Regions from separate parts of the Homo sapiens genome. Here region 1 is linked to region 2. The links are contacts of gene promoters, found by promoter capture Hi-C in blood cells and fetal thymus (Javierre and others, 2016). All regions are on one chromosome and are shown on one strand. The core of a region is centred on a gene start or on the middle of the fragment in contact, and the rest is flanking DNA. Distances in the headings are between cores, read along the strand shown.

Region 1 (4,966 bases), core at 342-2,841, 400 kb after region 2:
AAATCTCTGCACAACGTGTATAATTTTGAAAGCATCCTTTTTTTTTTTTTTTTTTTTTTGAGACACGAGTTTTGCTCTGTCACCCAGGCTGGAGTGCAATGGCGTGATCTTGGCTCACTGCAACCTCTGCCTCCCAAGTTCAAGCGATCCTTCTGACTCAGTCTCCTGAGTAGCTGGGACTACAGGCGCACGCCACCACGCCTGGCTAATTTTTGTATTTTTAGTAGAGACGGGGGTGTCACCATATTGGTCAGGCTGGTCTCAAACTCCTGACCTCGTGATCCGCCCACCTCAGCCTCCCAAAGTGCTGGGATTACAGGCATGAGCCACTGCGCCCGGCTGAAAGCATCCTTTCCTATAATGTCAGTCTGTCAATTTTAAATATTTTCTTCATTCTATATTGACATGATTAGAACATTAATATGCAGACAGATTTTTTAAAGAAAATGAGGAGATGATGGAGTCCCTTGAGTTTTTGACACTAAAAGAATAAGTGAATTATTCTTAAATCTCTTAATATTTTTAGCTATGATGTTATGATTAAAATTATTGATTTTGTATGAGTTCACAGTTGTTTTCTTATTCATTTCCATTATACATAGTAAATGGCCTTGCTCTAGATACCACACACATATTTTTGATAATATCATTCCAAACTCTTTCCTCTGTCTCTACTCCAAATAAAGTAGTATAATTTTCAAGGAAAAAAAATCAACTATGTATATTTGTATGTGTCTATTTCTGGACTCTCTGTTCTATTTCACTGGTTTGTGAGTCTATCTTTTCACTAATACCAAACTTTTTTTTTGGGTGGGGGGTGGAGGGGAATGGAATCTTGCTCCCTTGACCAGGCTGGAGTGCAGTGGCATGAACTTGGCTCACTGCAACTTCTGCCTCCCGGGTTGAAGCCATTCTCCTGCCTCAGCCTCCTGAGTAGCTGGGATTACAGGCATGTGCCACCACACCAGGCTAATTTTTGTATTTTTAGTAGATACCGGGTTTCACCATGTTGGTCAGGCTGGTCTCGAACTCCTGACCTCGTGATCCGCCCATCTTGGCCTCCCAAAGTTCTGGGATTACAGGCGTGAGCCACCGAGCCCAGCTGCCAAACTTTTAATGACTGTTTCTTTATAATAATTTTTATAATAGCTAGTTTGAGATCTCCAATTGTGTTCTTTTTCAAAATTGTTTTGGCCATTCTGATTCTTTGCCTTTCCATATGAATTTCAGAATCATCTTGTATACATATACAAACAAAATAATGATGGGTTTTAATTTAAATTGGGTTACATTCATAGATCAGATTGTGAGAACTAACATCTAAACTGTGTTTAGTCTTCCAATCTATGAACATGGTATATCCCTCCATTAATTTATCTGTTCTTTGATTTAGGTCTATAACACTTTGTAAATTTTAATATACAGACTCTGCACATGTTTATTAGATTTATATCTAAGTAATTTAATATTTTGGAGCTTCTGTACACAGTATGTTTTAAAATTTTAGTTTCCAATTATTCAATGATAGTATATATAGTATTGATTTTTTTATGATGAATTTGTATTCTGCAAACTCATTACTTATTGGTGCTAAGAATCTTTTATTTTTTATTTTTTTGAGATGGAGTTTCACTCATGTTGCCCAGGCTGGAGTGCAATGGTGCAATCTCAGCTCACTGCAGCCTCTGCCTCCCAGGTTCAAGCGATTCTCCTGCCACAGCATCCCGAGTAGCTGGGATTACAGGCATGCACCACCAAGCCCGGCTAATTTTGTATTTTTAGTAGAGACAGGGTTTCTCTATGTTGGTCAGGCTGGTCTTGAACTCCTGACCTCAGGTGATCAGCCTGCCTGGGCCTCCCAAAGTCCTGGGATTATAGGCATGAGCCACCATGCCCAGCCAGTGCTAAGAACTTTTTATAGATTTCCTTGGATTTTCTATGTAGACAGAAATGTCATCTGTGAATGGGAACATTTTTTATTGCTTCCTTTCCACTTTTTATGCCAATTTCTTGCCTTATTACACTGTCAAAAATATCAGTAAGACATTGAATAAGAGTGATGATAGTGGGCATCTTTAACTTGTACCTGAACTTCAGGAAAAGCATTCAGTCTTTTGCCATTAAATATGCTGTCTAATATACATAATTTGTAGATGTCATTTATTAGGTCAAAAATAGTTGCTAGGAACAGCAAACTCCTCCTAGTTTGCTGAAAGTTTTAATCATGAATGGTGGTTGATTTTTGTCAAATGCTTTTTCACATTCATTGATATGATAATGTGATTTTCTTTTTTAATCTGTTAATGTAGTAGAGAATATTGATTGATTTTCAAATATTCAAACAGCCTTGCACTTAAGGGATTAACCCCATTTACCAGTGGTGCGTTTTTAAATAGATTTATTTTTTAGAGAAGTTTTAGGTTTACAGCAAAATTGAGCAGAAAGTACAGAGAATTCCGACATACCTGCTACCTCCTCCACTATGCAGAACCTCCTCCACTATCAACATCCTGTACCAGAGTGGTACATTTGTTAAAATTGGTGAGCCTACACTGACACATCACTATCACTCAAAGTCTATAGTTTACATTAAAGTTCACTCTTGGTATTGTACATTCCATGGACTTTGACAAATGTATAATGACATGTATCCACCATAATAGTATCATATAGAACAGTTTTTCCCTAAAATCCTCTGTACTTTGTCTATTCATCCCTCCCTACTACCCTCCCTTACTCTTAACTCCTAGAAACCACTGGTTCTTACATTGTCTTCATATAGTTTTGCCTTTTCCAGAATGTCATATACATTATTTGGAATCATACAGGATGTAGCCTTTTCAAATTGGCCTTTTTCACTTAGTGGTATGCATTTAATGTTCATTTTGGGTGGGTGTAAATGGTATTGTGTTTTTAATTTCAAATTCAACTTGTTTTTTGTTGGTATATAGAAAACATTTCACTTTTGTATATTAACCTTATATCCTGCAACATTGCTATAATCACTTATTAGTTCCAAGAATTTTTTTCAGTTCTTTCAGATTTTCTACATAGACAATACTGTGAACAAAGACAGTTTTTATTTCTTCCTTTCCAATCTGTATACCTTATATTTTCTTTTCTTGTCTTATTGCATTAGCTAGAACTTCCAGTAAAATGCTGAAAAGGAGTGATGAGAGGGACATCCTTACCTTTTTCCTAATTGTATTTCTAAATATATATTGCCAGATTCAAATTCCTATTATTTTGCTGGGAATTTTTGTGTCTATATTTATGAAGGATAGTAGTAGTTTTTCTTTTCCTGTACTGTCTTTATTTGATCTTGATATCAGGATAATGTTGACTCTTCCAATGAACTGTTTCACATCTCAGCCTCCAAACTCTTGGTTTCCAATCCATTCTTCCAAGTTGCCAAAATGAACTCTTTTTTTCTTTGCCTTTAAAATTAAAATTATGGCTGGGCGTGGTGGCTCACACCTGTAATCCCAGCACTTTGGGAGGCCGAGGAGGGTGGATCACCTGAGGTTGGGAGTTCAAAACCAGCCTGACCAACATGGTGAAACCCTGTCTCTACTAAAAATACAAAATTAGCTAGGCATGGTGGCACATGCCTGTAATCCCAGCTACTCGGGAGGCTGAGGCAGGAGAATCGCTTGAACCCAGGAGGCAGAGGTTGTGGTGAGCCGAGATCGCGCCATTGCACTCCAGCCTGGGCAACAAAAACAAAACTCTGTCTCAAAAATAAATAAATAAATAAAATTATAATTATGTTCACTGTTTTGTTACTGGAAAGATATAATACAAGTAGAAAATTTGGAACAATATACCACTATAACATTGCCATTCCTCCCAATCCAGTCCCAAACCAGAGTTAATCACTTTATTACAGTTCAATCTATATCCTTTCAATTGTTCTTTTATGCCTTTGTAAACACATCTCTATCTATATATCAATAGCCATTTTAAAATATAAATAGAAGTATGATTTACATAATATACTGTGTATCAGGGACAAGATACAGAACACTCACACACACAGTCTGTCTTGTCTGTTTTCCCATCACATGACTTTATCTAAATTATCTTTATATTAATTAAACACTCCAATTTTTTTTTGGATATTTCCATTGTTTCCATTTTCCACTCTCCACTCTAATAAAGAAGCCCACTGTGAACACACCCCAGATCTGTGCTGAGGTCTTGGTGCCTTATCCAGACTTCCAGCACTGAGGTGTCTCCCTGCCACATCTCCATCAGGCCTGCACTGCTCGCCCCGGTGTTGATGTCCTGCTGCTAAATCCTTCCTCACCCCCTGCTGCTCCCTGGGGTCTGTGAGTTGGGAATATCCCAATTAGCTTTACTGATAACTCATTTTGTATCCAAAGGTTGAGGAGCCCTTGAAATAACAATTTTTTTATCGTTGGGCAGTATAAAGGTGGGTTTGATGTCCCGCGTAGGATGAGTTGGAGTTTGGAGAGGCTGGAGATGCAGATCCTATGGGAGATCAGTGCGAGAGCAAGGGCAAAAGCAGCTCCACATCTGACTCCTGAGAAGCACAGGACCAAGATCCCATGGTCTGTCTTCAGAAATCACCACCTCCCCAGTGAATTCTAAATATAATCTTGTCCTTTCCCGATAACTTCCCTCCCATCCTTGGTGCACAATCTGAAGTTGTCATAGGTGAGAGAGACGTGAAGGAAGAGGGACCCAGGAAGAATTTTCACTCAACGAAAAATTTCTAAAGACCTGTGGGGCAAAAACCCTGGAAACTTGAATTTTCCTGCGAGAGAGTTTGCCATTTGACCCTTTCCCCCCGGGATCGCCAGCGATGGGCAGTAAGAAGAAAAAGCCAGAGCCCCCAGAGACCGAAGAATGAAGGTGGCACCTTCCACACCACCTGCCTGCTGTGTCCGAGGCTCCCCGCGATCCTCAATCCCTGAGGTCTCAAGCTCCAAGAGGGGCGCCG
Region 2 (4,988 bases), core at 357-2,856:
AACAAGCCCACTGAAGGGGCAAGTAATCCTCTAAGTTAATGGAACTTTTGGAGGTCACTATTTACTAATGATTAGAAAATAGATTACAAGGTTAAATGTCATTATGTAGAATATTAAGTTTTGAATGATTTTTACCCAGTAAAGATGCAACTAGTTTCTGTCTTTTAGATAAAAATAATCCCAAAGGCCATAGTTTTCACTGCCTCATAGGACATTAGCTAGTTTTTTACTTAAACTTGCAATCTCATGTCAGCATTATTTTTCCCCCACTGACTATACCTTTACCAGCCTTTTCTATTGCCATTGCAATCAGTTTACCATACTCCTCCTTTTCTCATTAGTGACTTAAATAAATATTTGGTGATTAGTTACTATATATATATTTGAAGATTATGCTTTGATAGCTTTTAAGGTACTCCAGTGGCTTAGCAAGAGCTACAAAGTGAGAAGGTGTTCACTTTATTATCATCTGGTGCATTCCTGAACGGGACCTCGCTAACCTTTCTCAGGAGAGAGTCTGTGAGTGGACAATGTCCAGATACATGCAAGACCCATTTAGGAATACAGATCTCAAGAGAGAGTTATCTGTGCTCAGCTTAATTCCACTCACCTCCGTGTCCCAAGTGGGACACATGTGCTTTCAGATTTGTGGCAATCTTTATAGCTAGGAAAACAACTCCCAATTACTCAGTTCAATTCCCTCTCTTGCTGAAGAGTTGGGAAGCATATGATAAAAGCTATGTCCAGGCAAACTGCAGGTGTCATAGGGAGAGGAAGCCTATTTTAAAGTCAAAATCCCTATCTACTTCCTACCCACCTCAGCCACAACAATATGCTTATTCTTGTAATGCTGTTCTAAAGATTTCAGGTTTCTGGGTCTATTATCACTCATCCTTTTCCAAGTCCAGGTAATTGAATGCCTGAGGACACCAGGTGCTGTTTCTCAGTTGATAGAAGCTGCTAGATCTTCCATGACTGTTGATTTTTATCAGGGTAAAATTAAGTGGGGGAAAAATACTGGAGGGGACACTGTTGTCAGAAATCAGTCCCCCCACACCCCTCCCAATCAGAGCTTTAATCAGACAGGAACCTTTTACTATTTCCCACTTTTGAGTTTCCTTAAATGGAGTTCAATGCTTATCACCTGATGGGAGTTTCTTAGCACTAAGTATGTGCCAGGGGCTCCCCGAGGAACGATGATCGATGATCCTAAGAACAAAGTGGAAAGAAGGATGTAAAGAGATGATGTTCTTTACCTGAGATCGACGTGCAGAACAAAGTGGAGATAGAAGGTAGCTAACTCACTGCGGCGCAACGGATTTTGTTGGTAATTGGCGTTGCTTGGTTCTAAAAAGGCTAAGGAAACCAATAACAATAAACTGTGTACACAATTCCAAACACGTTAAAGACGATGGAGTCGGATTACAGGGGGAAAGGCACTTCAAGTAATGCTATTTTGGGTTGGAAAACAATGCTCCAGGTGAGGCTCGAACTCACAACCTCGGCATCACTCGCACACATACTGCCATATAAGTACCGCGCGCTAACCGATTGCGCCACTGGAGCACCCAGTTTCTACTTCCGGTCACTCCTTACACAGCCTACACAGGAACATCCGGCGTGTTTGCTCTGGTCGTCACAGCACCGGTTCCTCGGGCGCGCGCCCTTAGTCCTGGGGCCGCTTCTCCCCCGGACGCGTGCGAAGGCGGACTGGGTTCCGCTGCGGTCTCCACGGGAGCCACCGGTCCTGAAAGCGCGGAGCATGCTTTGTTTGCGGAAACGAAAGCGAATACTTCTTTCCAAGGAGACTTAGGAAAGGGCAGACGCTCCCACTGCCTCAGGTGTTCCCTGGAGGACCTTCAAGTGGCCGCCGTGTGGGCGGGCTAGCGTCCCGCTGCTGCGCTGGTTCCGGAGCCCTTCCCTTGCCTCTCCCAGGGTCCTTCTCCCAGCGTCGGAGGAAGGCCCGCAGTCTGCGAGTGGAGTGCGGGTGGTGGGAATCCCTGGGAGGATTACGAAATCCTTAAAGTGGGATTTACCAAACGCATTCCTTTCCGCTCACTTCCGTTCCCGCTTAACAAACGTGTTGGAAACGTGTTGCTACTGAAAGGAAGTGGCGCTGGGCTGCATTTTCTGTGGCTAGTCTGCGAGAAACAGCCCTGGAATAGGGCCTCTATTTCTTCCTTGGAGCATCCCTCCCCGGGACCTGGGAGTTGAAACTCTAGGCTAAAGCAACTGAAGCAGGCCCAGGACTGGGTCTCTGAAATTCATGGTGTCTCTACGCTGAGTTAAACTAAGTTTTTCAGAAAATGTCTAACTAGGCTAAAGACCTTGTGCTTCAGAGTGTTTTGAGAGGAGAGTTTGGGGAAAAGGGCTCTCTCTAGAAGGTAAATTTGTATGGGAGATGGGGAGTGTGTGTTTACACGGAGTATCGGGCGTCTTTCTTATGGGTGGACATTGTGGATAAGAATGAGATATTAAGGCAGAATTAGCTGGGCTTTTAATCCCAAACAGTGTTTTAAAAATAAAAACTATATATTTAAGGTGTACAACATGATGTTTTGATACATGTACACAGTGAAATGATTTCTACAGTCAAGCTAATTAACATAATACATCTCTTCACAGTTACTATTTTGTGTAAGTGGTGAGAGCGCATGAAATGTACTCTCCGCAAGTTTCCAATGCACAATGCAGTATTAACTATAGTTATGCTATGCATTACATCTCTAGACTTATTCATCCTATAGAACTGCAACTTTGTATCCTTTGACCAACATCTTAACCATTTCCATACGTCTCCACCCCTGGTAACCACTGTTCTACTCTGCTTCTATGTATTTGACTTTTTTAGAATCCACATAAGAGATCATGCAGTATTTTTCTTGCTGTGTCTGGCTTGTTTCACTTAGCATAATGACATCGAGGTTCATCCATGTTGCAAACAGCAGGATCTTCTTTATTAAGGATGAATAATATTCTATTGTGTGTATAAACTATATGTGCTTTATCCATTCATTGGTGGACAGCCACTTAGGTCGATTCCATATCTTAGTTATTGTGAATAATGTTTCAATGAAGATGGGCATGCAGTTATTGCTTCGAGATCCTGATTTCATTTCCTTTGCGGATGTGAACACCGAAAATTTGAGACACGTTTCAGTTAATTTAGAAAGTTTATTTTGCGAAGGTTGAGGACACACCCCTGTGACACAGCCTCAGGGAGTTCTGACTACCTGTGCCCAAGGTAATCGGGGCACAGCTTAGTTTTATACATTTTAGGGACACATGAGACATCAGTCAATATATGTAAGAAGTACATTGGTTCCATCCAGAAAGGCGGGGACAAAGCAGGGAGGGGGCTGCCAGGTCTTACTTTTGAGTTTCTGATAAACCTTTCCAAAGGAGGCAATCAGAGTATGCATCTATCTCAGTGAGCAGAGGGATGACTTTGAATAGAATGGGAGGCAAGTTTGCACTGAGCAGTTTCCAGCTTGAATTTTCCTTTTAGCTAGTGATTTTGGGGGTGCAAGATATTTTACTTTCACAGTATATACCCAGAAAAGGTACTGCTGGATCATGTGGTAGTTCTATTTGTAATTTTCTGAGGAACAGCCATACTGCTGTTTTCCATAAAGGCGGTACTAATTTGCATTCCCACTCATAATGTAAAAGGGTTCCCTTTTCTCTACATTGCCAACACTTGTTATTTTTTATATTTTTAAATTGGTTATTCTAACAGGTCTGAGATGATGTCTCATTGTGGGTTTGATTTGCATTTCCATGATGATTAGAGATGTTGAGCATTTTTTCTATTGGCCATTTTTTATGTCATCCTTGGGAAAATATCTGTTCAGGTTCTTTACCTATTTTTTAATTAGATTTGGTTTTCTTGCTATTGAGTTGTATGTGTATATATATATATACCTTATATATTTTGGATATTAACTCCTTATCAGATACATGGTTTACAAATATTTTCTCCCAACCAATAGTTGCCTTTTCGTTTTGCCCATTGTTTTCTTCTCTGTGCAGATTTTTCGTTTGATGTAGTCTCACTTGTTTACTTTTGCTTTTGTTTCCTGAGCTTTTGGTGTCCTGTCCAAGAAATCATTACAAAGGCCAGTGTCAAGGAGGTTTTCCCTTACATTTTCTTCTAGGAGTTTTACAATTTCAGGTCTTCTGTTTAAGTCTTTAACCTATTTCGAGTTGAATTTTATGTAAGGTGTAAGATAAGGGTGTAATTTTTTTATTTTGTATGTGGGTTCCCAGTTTTCCCAACACCATTTATTGAAGAGGCTGTCTTTTCCCCAATGTGTATTTTTGTCACGCTTGTCAAAAATCAGTTGACTCTAAATGTGTAGATTTATTTCTGGGCTCTCTATTTTGTTCCATCGGTCTATGTGTCTGTTTTCATGTCAGTGCCGTGCTGTTTTGATTGTATGGCTTTGTATAGTATATTTTGAAGTCAGGTAGTGTGATGCCTCCAACTTTGTTCTTCTTTCTCAAGATTGCCCTGGCTATTTAAGGTCTTTTGTGGTTTTATGCAATCTTAGAATGTTTTTATTTCTGTGAAAAATATTGGAATTTTGATATTGTGTTGAATCTGTATATTGCTTTGAGTATTATGGACATTTTAACAATATTAATTATTTTGATCCATAAACCTTTTCATTTACTTTGTCTTCTTCAGTTTCATTCATCAATGTTTTATAGTTTTCAGTGTACAAATCTCTTACCTCCTTGGTTACATTTATTCCTAAGTATTTAAATTTTTGTACCAATCGTAGTAGATATTTGTAAAACTTTCTTTTTAGATAGATTGTTGTTTGTGTAAAGAAACACACCTGACTTTTGTATGTTAATTTTATATCCTACAACTTTATTTAATTATTAATTTTAATAGCTTTTTGGGTGGAGTTTTTAGAAATTTCTACGTATAGACTCATGCCATCTGCAAACAGTTTTACTTCTTCTTTTACAATTTGGAT

The links. The method cuts DNA at HindIII sites, captures the fragments that hold promoters and counts their contacts. A CHiCAGO score of 5 or more calls a contact.
Region 1: a contact is called between a fragment that was not itself captured here and the fragment with the promoter of LARRPM in region 2, in 2 of 17 cell types (M2 macrophages and megakaryocytes). The highest score is 5.2, in M2 macrophages.

The regions. Positions count from the first base shown.
Region 1 is chr6:26,614,569-26,619,534 of GRCh38, reverse strand. No RefSeq gene overlaps it. Among named protein-coding and RNA genes, the nearest start is that of ABT1, 20 kb to the right of the region's middle. The HindIII fragment of the contact is 9,729 bases long and covers 1-4,966 here.
Region 2 is chr6:27,016,924-27,021,911 of GRCh38, reverse strand. It overlaps LARRPM (LINC00240 antisense RNA regulating promoter methylation), which reads left to right and starts at 1,606. Exons shown (of 1, transcript NR_026776.1): 1 at 1,606-2,546. The region is part of intron 2 of LINC00240 (long intergenic non-protein coding RNA 240); the gene reads right to left. TRI-TAT2-2 (tRNA-Ile (anticodon TAT) 2-2) reads right to left here and starts at 1,566; the gene lies at 1,473-1,566. RefSeq lists an enhancer at 1,602-1,861. The HindIII fragment of the contact is 5,623 bases long and covers 1-4,988 here.